Regions from separate parts of the Homo sapiens genome. Here regions 2 and 3 are each linked to region 1. The links are contacts of gene promoters, found by promoter capture Hi-C in human tissues and cell types (Jung and others, 2019). All regions are on one chromosome and are shown on one strand. The core of a region is centred on a gene start or on the middle of the fragment in contact, and the rest is flanking DNA. Distances in the headings are between cores, read along the strand shown.

Region 1 (3,507 bases), core at 623-3,122:
CTCTGTGACCTTGGGCATGTCATGTAACCTCTATAAGCTTTGGTCTTCTCATTTGAAAATGGGCATAATCTTTTCAGAATTATGAAAATAAAAGGAAATAATTCATGTGTTTGGAACCTTAAAAAGCATTCCATAAATGATACTTTTTATTACCATGTGGATCAGAACAGTGGGGAAAAGCCATTAACTTATGGGGAAAATCCATTAACTTAAAAGGCAAGCAGGGAGCCCACACTAGAGGGCAAAATAAGGGAGAAGCTAGCAGCCTCCCTTCTGGGACCAAGGGCAGGGTTCTGCAAAATGTACATATATGACTTCTAGGGGGTGCTATTCAATTTCATCCTTAGACTTGTGTATAGTTATTATAATGATTTTCTGGCAGATGGCAGTAAAATGTCCTGAGGAGGGAGCACCATTTCCTAATTCACCCAGAGATAACTTATGGGTAGGATTAATCTCCCGTAGACCCCTCTGAGACTCCTTTAATAATAATTTAATTTTTAAGTGATTCTACTACTATAAACATGTACACACATACACATACTGTGACACAGAACAATGCAAATACAGTTTCAGGAGATTCAGGAATTTTGAAGACCACCCATGTTAAAAGCCCAGTTCTAAGTGGTCTCAGAATCTCTAGAAGGTGTTTCCCATTCCCATCCTCCCCACTCTCATCCCCAATCTATCTAGAACATAATTAACAAAGGTGATTTAGCTCCAGAGCCTAGGAACACACTGCTGCAATTTCTGATATGAGCAGAACCCTCCCCTTCTTAAGTTTTTAAATATTTTTGTGTTGGTACTGAATTTATTTGGTTGTATTGCTTCCCCCGGAGTGCCTACTTTTCATTGAAAGTGGAAATCTCTGCAGTATTTTATTTTGTCCATGGAAGTTCACAAGCTTGGTCTTTGATGCTTCCAGGACTCATTAAAACACCTCACTTCTACATGTCTGAACTATAGCCCATGGACCTGGTAAGAGAGAAGCCCAAAGAAATTGGAAAATAAATCACCACACTGACTTTCCAAATTAAAATATATTATATTTTGGATGTTTCATACCTGTCTATATGGTTTTGTCATTGGCAAAAAAATAGCAAGTCTAAGGCAGTTTTAACGTTACATTAAACAATGTGTCCATAGTGAAATGTGATTAGTACATATTTCAGCAGCCCAAATTGCTGGGATAGGAGAAAGAAAGCACTGATCGTGGACCTATTTCGAAGAATGCACTAATGACTTTTCAAAATAATAGTATTTTCACGGGATGTGAGATGTCCAAAATTCTGATGCTGAAATATCAACATAGGATCAGAACTTATTTTAGTCTCCTATGCCACATTGAAACTTAATTTCGAGTGGAAAGGAAAGGTTTTCCCTGTTACAATTAAGATGTTTCTGATCATAAAATGAAGCTTACATTGTCACACTAGATTTCTTGATCCAACGCAGTACCCTCCCCGCCAATCCATCCAGAGTCCTCATTCCTAAATGCAATGCTTAAAAGGACATGCCACTATGCCAAACCCAAAGACTCTCATTTGACAGAAAAGGAAATGAATCTCTGTTACCTTTCTATCCCCTTCCTTTTGAATGAGCCATTTTTCTTCTTGAGTTGCTGGAATCTTCGGCACTGTCCAACTTTTCTGTAGGCAATCTTAAAGGGTTCTGGTAGATACAGCTGAGGTTGGGCCATTGCTCTCAACTTCACCTGTAGTAGCCGTTTTGGATTGTTTTAGTTCTTGAACTTACAGACTTCAATACAAAATCATCCAGTGACTGAATGTACTGTCAAGGTGTGGGCTATTCGGAATAAAATATGTAGGAAATTTTTAGAGTCTTTCCCTTATTCCCTTCCAGGTGTTAGAGACATTATTTGTGGGACTGGCCCTGTTTACAACTTCACAGAGGTCACCAGTGATGTATTTGACAGAGCTGTGTGAAATTCCATGGACCTTTGTGGAACACTTCACAGATTCTTGAACAAGGCAAATACAGAAATGATGATCTGATTGCCTCAATGCTGGCATTTGGATAGAAAAAAAAAATCAAACAACAACAACAACAACAAAAAACACCCACACACTAATTGACCACCACATTCAGAAGTGCGTATTTGAACTCTGAAGTGGTAGGGACCTATAGGAATACCAACGATACGCTGATTAACACAAGTTGAGCTTCTGTTAGATCTCTCAGTTACAGCTGGTGAATGTTCTCTGTGTCCTGTGGGACACATATGACAAGGCCAGTTGTTGTTTGGACATCTCAAAATGTACCCCAAGGGTGGTTTTCATTACATCTTGGAATTTTGCAGTGGTCTCTCAAAGTACATTGCTAAATTGAGGACCTGATCCACCCCTCCCTTCCAACATTGCCCCATTTATTTCGTGGTGAAGAGCGAATTCTGCCTGTGATGGAACTTCTCACCACAAGGTGGCAGCAGACACTAGGATTTATTCCTGTTACCCTCTCGCGGTTTGAGTTGTTCAGTCAAATAACTAGATGCTTAACAAGAAAAACTCCTCTAGAAAGGTTCTGGGAGTTACAAGAATTACTCTGCTTTCTGTGTTTGCATTAATCAATAATCTGGAGCATACTTCTCAAGCTTTCAAGTGCACACAAACTTCCTGGAGGTCTTTTTAAGATGCAGATTTCGATACAGTACATCTGGGCTGGGATCCAAGAATTTGCACTCCTAACAAACCCGCAGGTGACGCTGATGATGCCAGACTGCACTTGGAGTAGTGAGGGTCTTGTATGTTTCAGTACTGGGGAAAAGAGCTTTAAAATGGTCTAGAATGAAGTGTATAATGTTAAGGGGCTAAGAGAGTGGATTTGGGAATTATGCATGAGTTCTCATTTCTAGCTTAGCTATGTGACCTTGGCCAATTCATTTTAACCCACCCATGCTTGTTTTCTCATCCCTAAAGTGGGACAACTCATAGTGCCCAAGCCATAGTTTTATGGCAAAATTCAAGTGAAATAGAAATTCCGCTTCAGCAGGGAATGAGACCCAGGAATCCATATTCTAGGAGAGTGGGTGCAGATGTTCCTCTGTCCCTTATTTGAGAAACGCTGAAGTAGAGCATATCTAATATGCCTTGGCCAAATGGACATATGCTCCTCCCTGGTCTGTTTTTCCTCATCTGTTGGCATCCTCAGAGCACAATAAATAATAGGTGCTTGAATAAATGAATACATGAATATTTTCTTTAGCAACAGGGCAATATTTTTCATGCAATTATTGGCACTCCTGCCTTAATTCTGTTGTATTTCATCAATTATCTAGATGAATGAGATGAATTTTATGCTAGGAAAGACAGCTGTTTTTTATTTGTGCATGGGTGTCTATGTACATGTCTCTGTGTGTGCATGTCTGCATGTATGTGTGTATGTAATAGGCTGAAACACTTGCTGCTGTGGCATCTGTGACAAAACTTGTAGGTTCCCAAAGGAGTCCTGAAGCAGATGACAGAACTAGAAGGAGTGGGAAGGGGGTGG
Region 2 (3,507 bases), core at 734-3,233, 380 kb after region 1:
ATTTCCAGCAACGGTGACCGGACAGTCATTTTGCAGTAGTTAAATTTAATAACAGCAACTTTTCTCCTGATTAGCTTCACATATAGAAACACAGGAGCCCGGACTGGGCATCTGACAGATGGTGGCAGAAATACACAGTGCAAAGAAAGACGAAAGAGAAGCAACAGCCACTTGTGATTGTAGCTTTTCATGGCATGCTAGGACTTCATTTAGTGATCTGAATACTTTTTCTAAATTCAGTCCTTTTAAAGGTGCATGCATCCAATCGTAGGGGAAACTCATTCTTTCTACATACTGCTATAAGACCTTATAAAACTAGCACCTTTCAGCACAACATATAATATTTGGTAGCTGTATATGGAGTTTAAGTAATTTTCACTCTGACACTGATGAAGAAACTTTAATTAAAATGGTAAGCAGGTTGCAGCACAATGAATGTATTTAGGATATTAAACACTCCAAGGAAGGAGGGGTAGGGTAGAATGACATTACAGTTTTATAAAGCAAATATAAGTTTGCTTAAATAGTTTCCTTACTATGTTCAAAGAAACCCAGCACATACTTAAACAGCTAAAGTAAGCATTTCAGTATCAACACAGCCTCTTTGGTTTAAACATACAAATTACAAGAAAGCAAAGTCAAGAAAAATAGAGATTATTACTAGAGACTTAAAAACTGATACTTGGAAAGAAAAGTGTACAATCCAAATGTGCCTATGGAGACACATACATGCACACACATATCCCCACAGCCAGCTGTAAATCAAGATAGCTGTAAACTTACCGGAGCAAATATCACCATACACATTTACAAAAGAATTGATAATCCAACTTCCCTCTCCTGAAAGAAAATAGAGGTTGTCTCATACTAAAAATAAAGCTTCTCTGTCCACAGCACCAGCCACTTGTCCCTCTTTTTATGAAGCAAAGGAGGAGAAGAAGAAAATCAATGCAGAGGGAAAGTGAGATGTTATACCAATCAGATAGCAGCTTCAGCCTCATTTGCAGAGAGATGGCAAAACGGTCATATTATTAGACAGTGACAACCCACAGCTGAGTACAGGAACCTGATACTCCCCTCTGGTGAACGCTGCCTGCTTGGTGGGGAGGTGGCTGCCACCATGGTGAGCTCCCACACTTGGCTCTTGGCTCACAACTGGAAGTGCAGGACTGCTTTGCACGAGCAGGCTGCATCACCAACAGAGGCACCATCTCCCCTTTACTCTGCCAGCCCCCTCCTCCTGCAAGCACAGTGCTTAAAAACAAACTAGGAGATTTTTTTAAAGCCAGAATTTTGTGTTTTAAGGGTATGGGGAAAAATGGTGGTTTTATAAAATCTTACGAATAGATTTGCATAGATTAAGTAAATGTTGTTATGTTTGTTAAATAAATTGCCCTCATTTTAATGTAAATGCATAGCTGTTATGCATAATCCCCATTTGGGAAACTCGTACACTGTCCATAAATAATCATTAAGGTGATGTACTGGAAGACAGGCTTTTAAGGCTCTGGCAACTGTAGAAGGGACAGATTACAACTTGGTTGCTCACTCGTCACAGGAGTGTTACTTAAAGACGTCTCCTGCAAAACCTCAAAATTAAAATGGTTTCAGAGGCTTAAGTGCGACATGGATCTGCTTTCTTCTTCAAATAAACCTCTGTAGGAAGGAGTTCAGCTCGACTACTTCGAAGGGCCGAAATCATAGCACCTTGAGGCAATGTGTGTTGGGGGCATTTGTATCAAATTCTTGGAGAGGCTGCCACAGGTGACATGTTCTCACACTGGCATCGTGGACAATGTTTCCCCAAGGCAGATACCGCAGCACAGGGAGAGGAAGTCTGTGTGCCTCTCCTTCCCGCCCCCTACTTTGGGTCCCCACTCGGTGCGGGAATGTTGAAATGCACATAGGCTGGCCACATTTTTTATAGGTATTAATTTGTTGTTAATTTGGAGTTGTCCAAAGTCTTTTTTTGAGGTCCCTCTCTCTGTCTCTCTCTCTCTCGCTTTCCTTCCTATCTCTGTCTCTTTGTATCTCTGTCTCCTTCTCTCTCTCTCTTTCATGCGTGCACACACACACACACACACACACTATCACTACCATATCATAGCCACCACCATCATCTCTCTTACTCCCTTTCTTCCTTTTCTTATACACACAGTAACAACTTGGTGGATAGGGGGAGGTTGGGGGACCAAACCAACCAACCAAAAAACCATAACGAGGAGTCAGGCAACTTGGGTTCTAGTCCTGGTCTCCCACTTACTAGTCATGTGGCCTGCGCCTGAGCCTTGGTTTCCCCTTTGTAAAATGGCTACACTTATGCCTCATAGAGCTGTGAGTGGGAAGGTGTGGGGAAGAAATGAACAACGGGCAAGGCAGTGCTTTCACCTACACTACACACCTGCAAACTGGGCTCAGGGAGTCCAGCTCCCTCTCTCCTCCATCTCTTTCGATCCGCTTGTTGCCTATGCCTGAGCTTTTGGGGTGCTTACCAATTCTTCAAACTGTACATGCCCCATGGCCCCTTTGAAATTCTGATAGGAACCTTTTCCTCCCCACTCCCCTGTGGCCACCCCTCACCTGCTTATTGACAAATCTCTGCACTTCAATGAGAGAAGTTACTCAGGGGAGTAAATTAAGCAAGTGAACACATCTGAAGCAGGGAAAAAAAGCCTTAGAATCACCCGGCATTTAAGTGAGCACTCAGTAAACATTTACAGAATAAATAAATGAAGGATTGACTGAAAGAATAGTGTCTCTGTGCTGAAGGCCACAGTTCCTCCAGGTGGCTGATAAGGGGCAGAGTCAGAGTAGGGTCAAAGAGGCAGCAGTTTCCAGCAATGCACCTGTAGGGTAGAACCATACTTAATTGTTTCTTCACGGAGCCCAGTGAGTAATTCTCATTGGCTCTGAATATTAAGAGTCCCATTGCAAGTAAAAGGAAAAAAGTTCTGTCTTCTACATAATAATAGTGAAGATTTCTTGAATATTTACTCCTTGCCAGATACTATTCTATGTGGGTGTTTTTGGTATATCATTTTATTTGAGCCTTACAAAACTACGAGTTACAATTTTTATTCCAGGGTATAGGTGAAAAAACCAAGACCCAAAGAGTTAAGTAACTTATCTGAAAGTACAGAGTCAATACCTGGTAAAGCTAAAATTTGAGCCTAATTGTATGCCATTGTCTAAGCTATTAACCACTCTGCTTTGGATGCAACGTGATGGCACTTATACTTTTGTTTATTCAGTGTACAGGGTATGACAAATCCACATTTGGATGCATGGACCCTGCAGTAACTTCTCGGCTGTCCCCATTATGCAGATTTGCACCAGAGATTGGAACTTGCTGGTGTAGAAAGAGCCCATGAAATCCACGCTCAGGCCCTGCTGGTTTCTGTATGGCCTTGGGCACTTTAACATTTGGGAAGATAGGAGGTATGAGGCTCAGTCTTGGGTTTGCTAGCGGTTTGCTCTGTGACCCTGGCTGTGTCCCAGAATTTGTCC
Region 3 (3,507 bases), core at 583-3,082, 360 kb after region 1:
TTTTGGCTAGACAACAAAGAAGCAGAGGCTCATAATATTATTTTGTGTTTCTTTATATATGTTTGAAATTTTTCATTAAAATTTTTTAAAATTAAGATCAGATTATTAAGCAATCTATAAGTGAATATATATGTATAGACAAAATCCAATAGTTTTTTGTTCAATATATATAGTTTTCATGCTTTTTAAAGAATATTCAAAAATAGTATTAATCTAGATTCCCTAGAGGAACATTCCTTAAAGTAAGGAAATTTCACTCTCTTCTATTATTATACTATTGTAGGATGTAGAAGAAAATTTATTCTCTTTTCTTTAACAAAATTTTCTTTGTTAATAATCTTTTATTGATTGTGCTAAGGACCCATTTAGTTCTGCCTCATTATGGGAGAGTAGCTTTTTCTCATTATATTTTAATGAAATGAAGGATCACCATAGCCTAAAGGGCTTTATATTCCATGTAAAAGACATTATTTTTTAGGCAATAAGATGAAGATCCTCGCCATCTTTCAATAATGTCTTTCTATTGATTAAATCTAAGAGGCAATAAAATGTATCAAATTACTTAATGTTTAATATATTGGTTTTAGTTTCTGAGTACCAGTGATAAGTGGAGTTCACATGGAACACACTAATGAGCATAGACATAAGTATCCCATCAACTCCAGCACTGCAGAAGAGACTGCAGGGATGGAGCCATCTAGTGATTCTGTAACTAAAAGACAGAGTCACCTTTTTAAAATAATTTAGCTTTGGGCTCCCAAATTAAATGTATACTGCTTTTTAACACATCTAGCAAGGTTAAAATACTGTCAGAGACATCCTATTTGTTGATGGGAACCAAAGACAATGATGCAAAAATTAGTGACACAATTCTAAAAGAAATGATTTGCATGAGCTGGAGAAAACTGGAAGATGTGGGAAAAGAAATGTAAGTGGGAAGTGCCTTGCAAGTAGTAGTTGCCCAGAAAGTATGTGTCTGATGAAAACATGAGAGATAATTCTTTCTCTAAGAGATAAGAAGGAGGCATTGGATGGGGCTCCGAGAAGTTACGCTGAGTTGGAAAAAAGGGAAATTGAGGGTCTTATGCAAAAGGATCTTATTCTTAGTAAAGGAAGATGTGAAGATTAGGTATTTGAGGAAGTAGAAAAAAAGTGGAATACCTTCGGAAGAGGTGAAAATAAATTAAGTAAAAATGAAACAATTAAGAATTACAAAGAATGCAGGATGCAATTACATAATTTTCCTTGCCTGGTTGAAAGCCCTTTGAGGCAGGGACCATCCTTTGTTCATCTCTGCAACCCCCATACAGTGGGAGTGTTTGTAAATTAAATTCTTCAATGAGGGCCAGTAAGCCCAGAGCAAAACTCCAGTCAAATAGGCAGTAGAGGTAAGTTAAAAAGTAGGAAAAAAAATTAGAGAAAAAGTTCTTTGCAGAAAGTAAATAAAAATCAACATGACAGAACTAGCATCAGAGCAAACACAATGCACAACTCATAGCAAGCATTTAATATTAATTTGTTGAATTGGAAATGCATCCCTTCTTTACTCTAAACAGGGTGAAACTCACAAGTGTATATGAAAGTGCCTTAGTGGTACTTTGGTCTACTAGAAGTGGTTACGTAAGAGACAAAAGTAGAACTAAATGTTACGAAAAAAGGCATCTACATAAAATGTGAAGACATATAAGTGAAAGGAAGCAGAATCAACATTACAAAAAAATAGATAAATAAAATTTACAAAAATTGAATGACAAGATTCCAAGGTGTGAGATTATCTTGGAAGTTGGAATAAGATGAACTTGTTTGGGAGAAAATTTGATGGTGGTCATCTAGGAAAGTCCTGATGAGAGGAGATGAGGAGTATCTGTGGGCTGGTGTTTAAGCTTAGTTTCCCCTTTGGAAACCTCCTGAAAGCTATGGACTTACTCCATAGAAAATTTTTCATGTGTGCATATATTAAAAAATTGTCATGCGGACATGGTGGATTCAGATACTTCTCAGGATTCTCTAACAGACCAACCCAGAGATTCAAGGACCTCAGCCTAAGAACTTCTGCTCTGACAGAGAAGCACAACTTATAAGGTGACACAACTGGTGATGGACTATGGATGCCTCCTTTGAAAACCTATCCCTCACATTCATTCACAGCTACTTTTGGGGCAGCTACTATTTCCAAGGAACTTTCCAGATCTACTGTCCACTTAGGTTTCTGATTTCACACCTTCCACTTTTCTTGGATATTTACCATAAATCAGGTCCTTTAGAATCATGTCACCAGTTCCATTTTTGTTATTTCCATGTGCACCAAAACTGTATCTATTAAGAAAATCCAGGATCTGGATTTTTTGAGCCAGTCTGCTTCTTAGAAGGGAGCTGTCCTGAATGAAAATCACTTCATTGCAACGGTAAAATAAAATGTTCCACAGTAAAGTGACATAGCTGTACCTTTTTCCCTCGACTGTAAAAGAAAGTGACAGAATCCTTCTGAGAAACCCACTGGCACACATGAGACCTCAGTAACTATGGGTGGCATAGAATTTATTTCTAATGGAATAGCCTAGTCTCTGAGGACTGTGATTTGTAGTGGCCAAAACATCATATCAGTGGCAGCTGAATTGTGCATCTGCAGAGCAAAGGAGCCTGACAGGAACAGTGGAACCCAACATCCATTCACCACTCATTTCCCTGGTGGCCAGGGCCTGTATGTTCACACAAGCACCTTCCCCTTACAGGAAACTGAAAACAATGCTCAACAGGCTGGTTGAGGGCATCAAAATTTTATGGTGTTTTGACTTCCTTAGCAGAGATTGGTTGTAACTGCATATTATAATGGATGCACACTGAAGTATGCAAATAACAATTTTCCAGTCTAATGTTTTCATCTCTTCCCAGTCATAATAGATGAAGAGGATATCATCATTCCAAAGAGATAAATCTCAGCCCATTTTATATCAGTGTACAATTTAGGAGGGGCATCTTCCCATGACCTCTGTTATCAATGACTTTAGGAAGCTAGTACTCATGTCCTGGGAATAAAGTATAACTCAGCGACCTAAATTGGAGGTTAATGAATGTAAATTCACACCACTGACTTCAAGGTTTTATTTGATCTATGGCTCTTTTGGGGACAGTCTGTATCCAATTTGTTTTATCAGAGGTATGCAGACATTTTTCTTAAAATAAAAAATGAACATCTTTTCAGTGTAAATATTTATTGACTGCACACAAAGTAGGAGGCATTGTGTAGGTACTGGGTGTATGCGTATTTATTTATGTATATAGCAAGAAATGAATAGGCAAATAAAAATAAAATTGTGATAAAGGAAATTAAGGTACAAGGAGGTACAATGGTAGAGAACAACAGTGGGGTCTTCTCAGATAAGGTGAACAAGGAAGGCTTCTTTGAGGAAGGGTCTGTCTGGCCCAAAAGACAGAAAAGGAGCTAGTCTTGAAAAGAGTTAGACATAGATGAATGCAGACTCAGACAGAAAATTCTGTGAAGGGCAA

The links. The method cuts DNA at HindIII sites, captures the fragments that hold promoters and counts their contacts. A contact is called where the count stands out against the background at its distance.
Region 2: a contact is called between a fragment that was not itself captured here and the fragment with the promoter of C3orf49 in region 1, in 2 of the 25 tissues and cell types used here (H1 embryonic stem cells and dorsolateral prefrontal cortex).
Region 3: a fragment that was not itself captured here is called in contact with the fragment with the promoter of C3orf49 in region 1 in 2 of the 25 tissues and cell types used here (H1 embryonic stem cells and dorsolateral prefrontal cortex).

What each region holds. Positions count from the first base shown.
Region 1 is chr3:63,817,664-63,821,170 of GRCh38, reverse strand. C3orf49 (chromosome 3 open reading frame 49) reads right to left here and starts at 1,872. Exons shown (of 7, transcript NM_001355236.2): 1 at 1,575-1,872. The coding sequence starts at 1,699. RefSeq lists a silencer at 2,406-2,525. The HindIII fragment of the contact is 1,936 bases long and covers 1,162-3,097 here.
Region 2 is chr3:63,440,746-63,444,252 of GRCh38, reverse strand. The region is part of intron 2 of SYNPR (synaptoporin); the gene reads right to left. All of the region lies in intron 2 of SYNPR-AS1 (SYNPR antisense RNA 1), which reads left to right. Among named protein-coding and RNA genes, the nearest start is that of SYNPR-AS1, 110 kb to the left of the region's middle. RefSeq lists an enhancer at 1-59. The HindIII fragment of the contact is 5,814 bases long and covers 1-3,507 here.
Region 3 is chr3:63,462,110-63,465,616 of GRCh38, reverse strand. All of the region lies in intron 2 of SYNPR (synaptoporin), which reads right to left. The region is part of intron 1 of SYNPR-AS1 (SYNPR antisense RNA 1); the gene reads left to right. Among named protein-coding and RNA genes, the nearest start is that of SYNPR-AS1, 86 kb to the left of the region's middle. The HindIII fragment of the contact is 6,778 bases long and covers 1-3,507 here.